2 separate regions of the Homo sapiens genome follow, and region 1 is linked to region 2. The links are contacts of gene promoters, found by promoter capture Hi-C in human tissues and cell types (Jung and others, 2019). All regions are on one chromosome and are shown on one strand. The core of a region is centred on a gene start or on the middle of the fragment in contact, and the rest is flanking DNA. Distances in the headings are between cores, read along the strand shown. Region 1 has its middle 11 kb from the start of OR5H6. Region 2 holds the start of OR5K3 (olfactory receptor family 5 subfamily K member 3).

The links. The method cuts DNA at HindIII sites, captures the fragments that hold promoters and counts their contacts. A contact is called where the count stands out against the background at its distance.
Region 1: a contact is called between a fragment that was not itself captured here and the fragment with the promoter of OR5K3 in region 2, in 2 of the 25 tissues and cell types used here (adrenal gland and aorta).

Annotation. Positions count from the first base shown.
Region 1 is chr3:98,250,119-98,256,828 of GRCh38, reverse strand. No RefSeq gene overlaps it. Among named protein-coding and RNA genes, the nearest start is that of OR5H6, 11 kb to the left of the region's middle. The HindIII fragment of the contact is 4,375 bases long and covers 1,785-6,159 here.
Region 2 is chr3:98,386,242-98,393,207 of GRCh38, reverse strand. It overlaps OR5K3 (olfactory receptor family 5 subfamily K member 3), which reads right to left and starts at 2,542. Exons shown (of 1, transcript NM_001005516.1): 1 at 1,577-2,542. The coding sequence starts at 2,542. The coding sequence ends at 1,577. The HindIII fragment of the contact is 5,260 bases long and covers 1,061-6,320 here.

The DNA.
Region 1 (6,710 bases), core at 2,723-5,222, 140 kb after region 2:
GGAACCTCATTTGACAAGACCAGAATTATTCTGATACCAAAACCAAACAAATACACATCAAAAAAAAGAAAACTACAGGACAATATCTCTGGTAAATATTGATCAAAAATCCTCAACAAAATATTAGCAAACTGAATTCAACAATACATGATAAAGATCATTCATTATGACCAAGTGGGATTTATCCCTAGGATGCAGGTATGGTTCAGCATCCACAAATCAATCAACATGATACATCATATCAACAGAATGAAGAATAAAAACCATATGATCATTTCAATTGATGCTGAAAAACCATTTGATAAAATTCAACATCACTTTATAATAAAAACCCTCAAGAAATTGGGTATACAAGGAACATACCACAACATAATAAAAGCCATATACAACAGACTCACAGTCAGTATCATACTGAATGGGGAGCAACTGAAAGCCTTTCTGTCAGGCCTTTGAGCCCACGCTAAGCCATCATATCTCCTGTGACCTGCACTATACATTCGGATGGCCTGAAGTAACTGAAGAATCACTAAAGAAGTGAAAATGGCCTGTTCCTGCCTTAACTGAAGACATTACTTTGTGAAATTCCTTCTCCTGGCTCAAAAGCTCCCCCACTGAGCACCTTGTGTCCCCCGCCCGTCTGCCAGAGAACAACCCCCTTTGACTGTAATTTTCCACTACCTACCCAAATTCTATACAATGGTCCCACCCCTATCTCCCTTTACTGACTCTCTTTTTGGACTCAGCCTGCCTGCACCCAGGTGATTAAAAAGCTTTATCGCTCACACAAAGCCTGTTTGGTGGTCTCCTCACACAGACGCGTGTAACACTTTCCTCTCAGATTTGGAACATGACAAGGATGTTTACTGTCACCACTGTTATTCAATATAATACTGGAAGTACAATCATAGAGGAAAAGGTATAAAGGGCATCTAAATTGGAAAGGAAAAAGTGAAATTATCCTGCTTGCAGATGATATAATTATGTATTTGGAAAAAATGAAAAATTCAAAAAGAAAATTATTAGAACTGGTAAACAAATTCAGTAAACTTGCAGGATACAAAATCAACATACAAAAATAAGTAGCATTTCTATATAGCAACAGTGAACAATATGAAAAAGAAATTCAAAAGTAATCACAGTTACAGTAGCCACATGTAAAATTAAGTATTTAGGAATTAACCAGAGAAGTGAAAGATCTCAATAATGAAAGCTATAAAACATCGATGAAGGCAGTTAAAGATGACATCAAAACATGAAAAGATATTTTATGTTCATGGATTGGAAGAATCAATATTGTTAAAATGTCCACACTGCCAAAAGCAATCTATAGATTCAGTGCATTGCCTATCAAAATACCAATGACATTCTTCAAAGAAATAGAAGAAACAATTCTAAAATATATATAGAATGACAAAAGAAAACCCAGAATAGCCAAAGCTATCCTAAGCTAAGAGAACAAAACTGGAGGAATCATGTTACCTGACTTTAAATATACTACAGAGCTATAGTGTTGTGGGAAGACAGGGACCCTGAATGGAGGGACTGGCTGGAGCCGTGGCAGAGGAACATAAATTGTGAAGGTTTCATTTTAATATGGACATTTATCAGTTCCCAAATAATACTTTTATAATTTCTTATGCCTGTCTTTAATCTCTTAATCCTGTTATCTTCATAAACTGAGGATATACGTCACCTCAGGACCACTGTGATAATTGTGTTAACTGTACAAATTGATTATAAAACGTGTGTTTGAACAATATGAAATCAGTGCACCTTGAAAAAGAACAGAATAACAGCAATTTTTAGGGAACAAGGGAAGACAACCATAAGGTCTGACTGCCTGCAGGGTCGGGCAAAAAGAGCCATATTTTTATTCTTGCAGAGAGCCTATAAATGGACGTGCAAGTAGGCAAGATATCACTAAATTCTTTTCCTAGCAAAGAATATTAATATTAATATCCTCGGAAAGGAATGCATTCCTGCAGGAGGTCTATAAATGGCCGCTCTGGGAATGTCTGTTGTTTAAGATGTTTATCAAGGCAATACGTGCACCACTGAACATAGACCCTTATCAGTAGTTCTGCTTTTGCCCTTTGCCTTGTGATCTTTGTTGGACCCTTATCAGTAGTTCTCCTTTTCGCCCTTTGAAGCATGTCATCTACTCCCCATTCTTACATCCCTTCCCCTTTTGAAACCCTTAATAAAAAACTTGCTGGTTTGAGGCTCAGGTGGGCATCACAGTCCTACCGATATGTGATGTCACCCCTGGTGGCCCAGCTGTAAAATTCCTCTCTTTGTACTCTTTCCCTTTATTTTTCATCCAGCCAACACTTATGGAAAATAGAAAGAACCTATGTTGAAATATTGGGGACAGGTTCCCCTGATACTATAGAAAAAAAAAAACCCAGCACGGTTGACATAAAAATAGACACACAGACCAATGGAACAGAATAAAGAATCCAGAAACAAATGCACACATCTACAGTGAACTCATTTTCAACAAAAATTCCCAGAACACATACTGGAGAAAGACAGTCTCATCAATACATGGTGCTCAGAAAACTAGATATGCATAAGCAAAAGAAAAAAACTAGACCCCTATCTCTCACCATATAGAAAACTGAAATCAAAATGGATTTAAAACTTAAATTCAAGACTTCAAACTATGAAACTACTAAAGAAAACATTGGAGAATATATCCAGAACATTGGGCAGGGCAAAAATTTTTTGAGTAACAACCCAGAAGCACAGCAAACTAAGCAAAAATGGACAAATGACACCACATCAAGTTAAAAAGCTTCAGCACAGCAATGGATACAAGCATCAAAGTGAAGAGACAACCCAGAGAATGGGAGAAAATATTTACAAACTACCCATCTGACAAGGGATTAATAGCCAGAATATATAAGGAGCTCAAACATCTCTATAGGAAAAAAATTGAATAATCTGATTTTTAAAATGGGCAAAAGATTTGAATACACATTTCTGAAAAGAAGTCATATGAATGAAAAACAGGCATTTGAAAGGTGCTCTACATCATATTGATCATTAGATAAATGCAAATTAAAACTACAATGAGATATCATCTCACTCCAGTTAAAATGGCTTGCCTCCAAAAGACAGGCAATAATAAATGCTGGCAAGGATGTGGAGAAAAGAGAACCCTTATACACTGTTGTTGGGAATGTAAATTAGTATAAACACTATGGAGAACAGTTTGGTGGTTCCTCTAAAAACTGAAAATAGAGCTACCATATGATGCAGTAATTCCACTGCTGGATATATACTCCCCCAAAAAGGAAAGCAGTATATTGAATAGATATCTGCATGCACATATGTGTTGCAGCATGGTTCACAATAGCCAAGATTTGGAAGCAACCTAAGTATCCATCAACAAATGAATGGATAAAGAAAATGTGGCATGTATACCCAACGAGTCTCAATTCAGCCATAAAAAAGAATGAGACGCTGTCATTTCCAACAACATGGATGGAACTGGAGATCATCATGTTAAATGAAATAAGTCAGGTAAAGAAAGACAAACATCACACATTCTCACTTACTTGTGGCATCTAAAAACCAAAACAATTGAATTCATGCACACAGAGAGTAGAAGAATGTTAACCAGAGGCTGAGAAGGGTATTGGGTATTTCAGGGGCACTTGGGGATGCTTGATGGATACAAATAATAGATAGAAAGAATAAATAAGACCTACTATTTGATATCACAAAAGGGCGACTGTAGTAAATAATTTTTAAAAACTATTTATTAAGCTTTAAGTTCTGGGATACATGTGCAGAAAGTTCCGGTTTGTTACATATGTATACATGTGCCATGGTGGTTTGCTGCACCCATCAACCCGTCATCTAGGTTTTAAGCTCTGCATGCATTAAGTATTTGTCCTTATGCTCTCCCTCCCTACGGCCCCCACACCCCAACAGGCTCTGATGCTTAGTGTTACCCTCCCTGTGTCCATGTGTTCTCATGGTTTAACTCCCACTTATGAGTGAGAACATGCAGTGTTTGATTTTCTGTTCTTGTGTCAGTTTGCTGAGAATGATGGTTTCCAACTTCATCCATATCCCTGCAAAGGACATGAACTTGTTCTTTTTTGTGGCAGCATAGTATTCCATGGTGTATATGTGCCACATTTTCTTTATCCAGTCTATCATTGATGGGCATTTGGGTTGGTTCCAAGTCTTTCCTATTGTGAATAGCACTTCAATAAACATACAAATGCATGTGTCTGTATAGTAGAATGATTTATATTCCTTTGGGTATATACCCAGTAATAGGATTTCTGGGTCAAATGGTATTTCTGGTTCTAGATCCTTGAGGAATCACCACACTGTCTTCCACAATAGCTGAACTAATTTACACTGCCACCAACAGTGTAAAAGCATTCCTATTTCTCCACATCCTCTCCAGCATCTGTTGTTTCCTGACTTTTTAATGATCGCCATTCTAATTGGGGTGAGATGGTATCTCACTGTGGTTTTGATTTGCATTTCTCTAATGACCAGTGATGATGAGCCTTTTTTCATATATTTCTTGGCCACATAATGTCCTCTTTTGAGAAGTTCATATCCTTTGCCCACTTTTTGATGGTATTGCTTGTTTTTCTCTTGTAAATTTGTTTAAGTTCCTTGTAGATTCTGGAGATCACACCTTTGTCAGATGGATAGATTGCAAAAGTTTTCTCCTATTTGCTAGGTTGCCTCTTCACTTGTATGTTTAAAAATAACTGAAAGAGTATAAGTGGATTATTTGTAACACAAAAAAAATGTGTAAAAGGATATATACTCTATTCTCCATGATATGATTATTAATACCCAGTATTTGGTAGACAGAAGGTTTACTATAGTCAAAATAATTTAATTGTACATTTTACAATTACCAAGAAATACACTTGGATTGTTTGTATCACTAAGGATAAATGGTTGATGGGATGGATACCTCATTTTCCATGATGTGATTATAACATGTTGCATACCTATATCAAAATATCTCATGTACCCCATGTATATATATATGAATATATATGTACCCACAAGTATTAAATATATAATATATATAATATAGAGAGAGAGACTAACACATCAATAAAGACACAAATGCATGTGTCTGTATAGTAGAATAAGTATAAATATATAAAAAAATACTCTGGGGTACATATATACATATACATACATGTACATATATACACATATATACATATACATACACACACTCACATACATATATATATGTATCCACAAGTATTAAAAATAAAAATTTTAAACTTTTAAGTTCAGGGGTACATGTGAAGGTTGTGCAGGTTTGTTACATAGGTAAACGTGTGTCAAGGGGGTTTGCTGTACAGATTATGTCACCAGCCAGGCATTAAGCCCAGATTTCATTAGTTATTTTTTTGATATTCTCCCTCCTCCCACCCTCCATCCTCCAATAGGTCCCAGTGTGTGCTGTTCCCAACTAAGTGTCCATATATTCTCATCATTTAGCTCCCACTTATAAGTGAGAACCTTGTAGTATTTAGTTTTCTGTCTCTCCATTAGTTTGCTAAGGATGACGGCCTCCTGCTCTATCCATGTTGCTGCAAAGGACACGGTATCATTCCTTTCTATGACTGTATAGTATTCCATGGTGTATATGTACTGCATTTTCATTATCCAGTCTATTATTGATGAGCATTTAGGTTGATTCCATGTTTTTGCTATGTGATTAATGCTGTAATGAACATACACATGTATGTGTCTTCATAATAGAACAATTTACATTCCTTTGGGTATACCCTCAGTAATTGGATTGCTGGGTCAAAAGGTATTTCTGTTCTTATGTCTTTGAGAAATCACCACACTGTCTTCCACAGTGGTAGAGCCAGTTTACACTCCCATCAACACTGTCTAAGTGTTCCATTTTTCTCCACAACCTCACTAGCATATATTATTCTTTGACTTTTTAATAATAGCCATTCTGACTGGTGTGAGACGGTATGTCATTGTGGTTTTGATTTGCATTTCTCTAATGATCAGTGATGTTGAGCTTTTTTTGATATGTTTTTTGGCCACATAAATGTCTTCTTTTAGAAGTGTCTGTTCATATCGTTCACCCACATTTTGATAGGGTTTTTTTTTTTCTTGTAAATTTGTTTATGTTCATTATAGATGCTGGATGTTAGATCTTTGTCGGATGCACACACTGCAAAAATTTTCTCACATTCTTAGGTTGTTTGTTTACCCCATGTTGATAGTTTCTTTTGCTCTGCAGAAGCTCTTTAGTTTAATTAGATCCCATTGGTCAATTTGTGCTTTTGTTGCAATCAGTTTTGGTATCTTTGTCATGAAATCTTTGCCCATGCCTATGTCCTGAATTGTATTGCCTAGGTATTCTTCTAAGGTTTCTATAGTTTTGGGTTTTACATTTAACTCTTTAATTTATCTTGAGTTTATTTTGGTATATGGTGTAAGGAAGAAGTTCAGTTTCAATTTTCTGCATAAGGCTAGCCAGTTCTCTTAACACCGCTTTTTAAATAAAGAATCCTTTCCCCATTGCTTGTTTTGTTGAAGACCAGATGGTTGTAGGTATGTGGTCTTATTTCTAGGTTCTCTATTATGTTCCATTGGTCTATGTATCTGTTCTTGTACCAGTACCATGCTGTTTTGGTTAATGTAGCCCTGTAGTATAGTTTGAAGTAGGGTAGCATGATGGC
Region 2 (6,966 bases), core at 1,293-3,792:
GAGCTCTACCACTGTATTTCTGTAGACAAGAAATTTCTCTGTCCCTCATTTTTTTTAAAGTAAGGTTATTAGAAATTAAAATAGTAATAAGAGTAAAAAACCTAATTAATTTGCTGTACAGTAAAATGGATACCACTGAAAAGTTATTTGAAAACTAAAAGATCACCTGAGGATTAATTTAAAATAGAATATAAAGAGACAAATACGAGTGATAGTCAAGAAGCAGGAATGTATCCGTTAGTATTTATTCAGTCATGAATAAAACATCTCTGCCAAATAAGCTTAAAAGATAAGAAGGTCTATTGGATTATACAGTCAGAAGAGATGGTTTACTCCAGAGATTTTGGGTCTATTTCTGTGTGATTTCTTCAGCTATGCCCTCATTTGAGTATTGACTACAACTCCAGGCTGGTTTTCCTCTTGATGGTGAAAGGGAATTGGCTCTGCTGGGTTTCATATCCGCATACCGTAACACTCAGAGAGAGAAAGACTATTTTTTGTGGATCTCTTTTAAAATAAGAAAACTCATTTTTCAGGAAAAAATCACCTTTTCTGTCTCACTGGCTCCATATAAGTCACAAACTCTTCCCTGAATAGATGTCTGGGATTCAGTGTTACTAAGAGTTGAGAGTGAATGACACAGAAACACACTTTTTATTTATTTCTATATATTTTTTGAGGCAGAGTCTCACTCTGACACCAAAGCTAGAGTGCAGTGGCCTGATCTCAGCTCACTGCAACATCCACCTCCAGGGTTCAAGCGATCCTCCTGCTTCAGTCTCCTAGGTAGTCGAGATTATAAGGATGCACCATGCCTGGCTAATTTTAAAAATATTTTTAGTAGAGATGGGGTTTCACTATGTTGGCCAGGCTAGTTTCAAACTCCTGACCTCAGGTGATCTACCTGCCTTGGCCTCTGGAAGTGCTAGGATTACAGGCATAAGCCCAGATTACTGTGCCAAGCCCAGAAATACATTTTTAAAATTATGGCATTATAGAAAGGGAAAAGCAATCAATACAGGTACTCTGTTTCATAGAACTTGAGAATGTAAAATGACTAATGACTAACACTAAATATGAAAATATTATTGATTAGAGAATACATATTCTGCATGAATAATTTTTCAAGCAATCTCTTGAAAGAACTCAAAAAAAGTTAGAATCAAATTCAGACAGACAATTTACTTCTCACAGATGATTCTGGTTAAAAAGGGACTAATGTTTGAGAACTTGGAATGTGCCTGAGTTCGTAAAATTATGCTTTAAGATTCCAGAAATTTGCCAACAATAGTAAATGCACACTACCGTTATATGTACTGACATTTATTCCTAGTATTTGTTGGATTTGCTGAAAATTGTAACTAATTACACTCTGACACAATCTGAGACTTCATGAATAATTTAGTTCACTTTTGATGAACACTAGTAGCTTAGATTTTGAAGTATATTTTACAGGAATTTCTCCTTTCTGAACATTTTGAACTCCTATATCATTATTTTTAAATAATTTAATATTTTATATTCAAAGTGGCCTTGTAAACTGCCTCACTATCCCTTGATTTAAAATAAAGTATTATCAAGTTGCCAGAGGGGATGACATTTGTTTCAGAATGTGACAAAATTTTCTCTTCTTCATAATTTTTTTCATAATATTTATTACTTCCTTATTTCTTAGGCTATAAATAAAAGGATTTAATAAAGGAATAACTAAAGTATAAAATATAGCAACAGGTATATCTTTATCCCCTTCATTAACTGCACCTGGTCGAGCATACATGAAGAGAAGGGAATCACAGAATATTGACACAGAGAGAAAGTGAGATGCACAAGTAGATAAAGCTTTGCCTCTTCCCTCCTTGGATTTCATTGTAAATATTGTGAAAAGGATGTAGAAATAAGAAACTAAGACTATAGTAAAGATTTGAATTGATCCTGCCAAGATAAATAACACCAATTCATTGATATAAGGGTTAATACAAGAAAGTCTATATAATGGAAGAACATCACAGAAAAAATGATTGATTTGATGAGACCCACAGAAAGTTAACCTCAACAGAAACTCTACTTCAATCATGGGATGCAGGTTGCCAGCTAGGTAGGCTCCTGCAGTCATCTGAATGCAGAGTGTCTTGGACATCATGGTGTGGTACTGCAGTGGGTTGCATATGGCCACATAGCAGTCATAGGCCATTGCCGCCAGAAGAAAGCAGTCTGTAGTTTCAGCAAGACAGAGAAAATAAAATTGTGCCATACATTCATACAGGGTAATCCTTTTGTCCTCAGAAAAGAAGTTCTCTAACATCTTGGGAGTAATAGCAGAGGAACAGCAGGAATCCATCAGAACTAGGTTGCCTAAAAATATGTACATTGGTGTGTGAAGACGTTGCTCTATATAAATCAATGCCACCAAACCAATGTTCCCCACCATGGTGATCAGATAGATGGCAAAGAACACCACAAACAGAACAGTCTTCAGCTTTGGATGATATGTAAATCCTGTGAGGATGAACTCAGCTATCAAGGAGTGATTCTCCTTATTCATCTCCACCTTGTCTGTTGAGAGATGAATGAGGGGTTATAATATTGTAATTGATTGTAATTGAGAGCATATTATTGTTCCTTCAATTTTTTTCCTTTTTACAACAAGTAGAGGAATTTCTTTGTCATATTTCCCCTGCTGTTTCTAAATACATCCTCACATACTTCTAGGGGACATTTGTTCTCCTAAAGTGTCAGTGTCTGTGACCTCAAGCTCTGACCCTTAGGATTCACAAGGATATTTTGATAATTCCAGGGAAGATGTTTAAAGTGGAAATGGTTCATCTTTATAAATTTATGCAAGGATAGCATAAAAAACTAGGGGACCCCTATCTGGTTCATTGTTCTCAAATAATTTCACTGTCAGTTTTGTATTGAAGATCCTCCTTAAAACAAATTTATAATATATATATATATGTCATATAATATAGAATATATATATTATATGGGGCTATATATATATATATACACACACACACACGCACACACATCTCTCTCCAAGAAAATAATTTCTATATATTCTTCCAGTAGATTGAATGTTTTAAAAAAGCATATAACAGATATGTTAAATTTATATCTTAGGAACTGTATGAAATTCACCAAGAACTGAGGAGGAAAATATTTATCTTTAAAGAAAATTATCTTGGAGATTTAAAGAAATAAACATCCGTAGATTATCACTTGTCTCATCCCTTTCCCCAGTGTCACACCCATTTCATAAACATTGACTCTATCCATTCTATTATTCCTGTTGATTTTCTCTTACATGCCTAAATCCTTCCTCCTTTTGATAAGGAATACTTTTTATATAATGCTACTTAAAGTTTTAACTAATTGCCCCAGTCCACACAGATTTCCATTTTCCGAACGGTAGATGCTCTCTTATATACTCCACACAATTCAGAATTTCTTGCCTATATATACATTGCTTTTTAAAAATGTCAGTCTATTCAATTTTCTTATATTGTAAGCATTTTGAGGTTAGTTGTGATTTATACTTCTGTGAAAAGAGCTGTAAAATACTATGGGGGAAAAGGCAGTATTAATTTCAGTATTAGCTCCACCCTGATGACCTGGAATGAGTAAAGTTGCTTTATGAATTCTACTAATGATCCTTAATGATTCTTTGGTTTCTGCAGACTATTAGCTTTAAAGGAAAGTCTACAAAGAAATATATAAAATCATTACATAAAATTTTAGGTGTCTTTCTTTTATCTAAATTGACTCTTTTCTACCATTTTTCTGTTTCTTCAGAAAATTATATAAGATTTTCTGAAGTATACTATAGCAGATTAAAAGCTACTAAGTAAAAGCAAGCTCACCTTTATACTATAGCCTTCTAACACTTAGGAAAAAGGAGAAAATCCTTTATATCTTAATAGGATTTTTGAAGTCAAATTTTGTTTTGCTTTAAAAGGCTATTTCCTTTCCCTGCATAGTGATTCATTAGGACATACTGACTGATAATTCAAATCATATAAGTTCTATGGTCAAAATAGACATGTTTTTATATTCAAAATATTAAAACAAAAACATGGGCTGACTATTTTATTAATTCGTTTTAAAATAATAAATGTAAGCCATGTAGTCAGTTAAGTTAGCAATAACTTTCTATGTACATGCCTAAATTATTTAACAGAATTTCTTTGTAACTTTACTTATGTGTTTTGAAATTCTGTTACAATCAGAAAGTCAGACAAATTGCAGTATTGTGTCTCATCCTAGTTCTTCATAGCATTCAATTTTGAAAAGTGCTAGAAAGATTAGAAAAAAGCTGAAATTTAAGAACAATAAAAGATACTAAATAATTCAGAGGTACTAAATAATTCAGAGCTTTATGGTTGCTAAAATTAGAAGTAAAAATAAGTTAGCACGCTTCTCTTACCTAGATTTTACTGAGAAGAGCTTTGTAACAGCTTTATGATGTGGTTTTCATAAAATTAAAGAATATAAACCTTGGCCTCTAAAACATTTGGGATTAAAAGAATGAAAATCTAGGAGACTACTAGTAGGTCAGTGTTGATAATTATATCTGTAACACTGCAAAGTTAAAGCTTTCCACCAAATCCTAAAGGGATTTCTCTGCACTGACATCAGTGTAATTCTGTGGACTCAGTCCTAAAAATATATAAACCACTTGAAATTAATTAAAGATGTCTTGTGAGATAATGAGGTAAAAACAAATGACCTTCACTAAAGTCTGTTTGATGATCATCTTGCTGATTCATATGAAACCGATCTCATTTTTACAATTTTATTCACTATTCTGAACATACAAGATAAAACAGGCAGAAAATAGTCTCAGGCTGGTTTGACCTGTTACTGGGGGAAGTGTGACTAATATGCTTTGTAGAAAATAATTAGTATTTAAAGAGGATCCAAGAAAGTGTAGAAAGTGCGGCCAAGGTCATCAACTTCTTCACTCTGTGAGGTGAATTTGTTCCCACATCCTACAATGCCCTCAGGGAAACTTTGATATTATTATTATCTGGCTCCCCATATGAATTATTGAGATTGCTATACCGTCTTTTCTGCTCATACCAGCTGTCCTTTACCCTGTTGTTTCCTTCTTCACACTTCACTCCTCGATATACTATATATTTGTTAGGACATCTAAAATCGGTCACTCCTGTCCCATCACTATCATTAGCATATAGGCTTAAAGGGAAGGGGTTTCTTTGACACATTCAATCCTGCATTTCAAATATCTTGAACAGTGTCTGGCACTCTTTTTTTTTTTTTTCTTTTTTGAGACGGAGTCTCACTCTGTTGCCCAGGCTGGAGTGCAGAGGCACGATCTCGGCTCACTGCCAGCTCCTCCTCCCAGGTTCATGCCATTCTCCTGCCTCAGCCTCCCGAGTAGCTGGGACTGCAGGCACCCTCCACCATGCCCGGCTAATTTTTTGTATAGTTAGTAGAGACGGGGTTTCACCATGTTAGCCAGGATGGTCTCGATCTCCTGACCTCGTGATCTGCCTGCCTCGGCCTCCCAAAGTGTTGGGATTACAGGCGTGAGCCACCACGCCTGGCCGTGTCTGGCACTCTTTAGTGCTAATTGAGGACTTGCTGAATGAAAGGGGGAAAAAATAATACTGCACTGCTCAAGAATTTATAAAATTCCCATTACTTTTCAAACCAAATCAATTTTTCTTATTTTGGTGTTCTAGATATCCCATTGTTTTCTGTATCTTATCATCAACTTGTTTTCTCCTCCTTATCTCAGCAAACTCGGCCATGTGCTCCCTTCCTTGTTCCTTGTGCATTTGCTTCAATTAATTTGCTAGTAATGTTTCTCTTATCTAAAACAGCTTCTCCCTCTTTTCCATCTCAATAGTTGAGTTCAAAGAAGATCTTGCAGCCTTTCTTAATCTTTGAAATCAAATTGATTTTTCTTCTTCTTGAAATACACAATACTTGCCTGCTCTATAATATACTTATCACTTAATAAGGTGTGAGTAGTATATCCCATGATTGTGTAAATCTTGATTAAATATCGTCAAGTCACAGACCAATTCATAAATCTTTTGGGCACTTTGTAGCAAACTGAGCTAGATCCTCAGACCCTCAATCCATACTTACTACACTGATTGCTAAAATTTCAGTTTTATTTTCCCTTTATTAAGTACTTACAACATACAGGGCAGTGGAAAAAAGAAAATTGGCATAGGGGTACTGGGGTATGAACAGGGTGAGGATAAGAACTTCTTAGATAAAAATGGCTCCTGACAAGAAGCTCATAATCTAGTTGGGAAGAAAGACACATAGATTGCTAACTAGAGTATAATTCAGGCTGTGATATAAAAAAGGGTAAATAAGTTTTTTTGTTTTTGTTTTTATTTTTATTTTTTTTGAGACGGAGCCTCGCTCTGTCTCCCAGGCTGGATTGCAGTGGTGTCATCTCAGCTCACTGCAACCTCTGCCTCCTGGGTTCAAGCAATTATCTTGCCTCAGCCTCCCAAATAGCTGGGACTACAGGCATATGCCACCACACCCAGCTAATTTTTTTTATTTTTAGTAGAGACGGGGTTTCACCATGTTGGCCAGGCTGTTCTCGAACTCTTGACCTCAAATGATCCACTTGCCTCAGCCTCCCAAAGTGCTGGGATTACGGGTGTGTAATCCCAGCACCTGGCCAAAAAAAGGGTAAGTAAGGTTTATAAAAATATAAAGAAGAAAGTGCATAGTGACCCGAGGAACAAAGAAAGATTTCTCAATGGAAGTGTCAGTTGAGATAAACTTTGCAAAATAAGTAGGATTATAATAGGCAGAGAGAATGAAGAAGAGGAAGAGGTGAGGGAATCATATCACAAAAGTCTGGAATTTTGAAAGCACAAGAGCTAATCAAAAAATGGTTTGTAAACTAGGGTGGCTGCATCTTACAAGAACTCATAAGCAATATAAGGGGAATGGGCAGTTAGATTACAAATT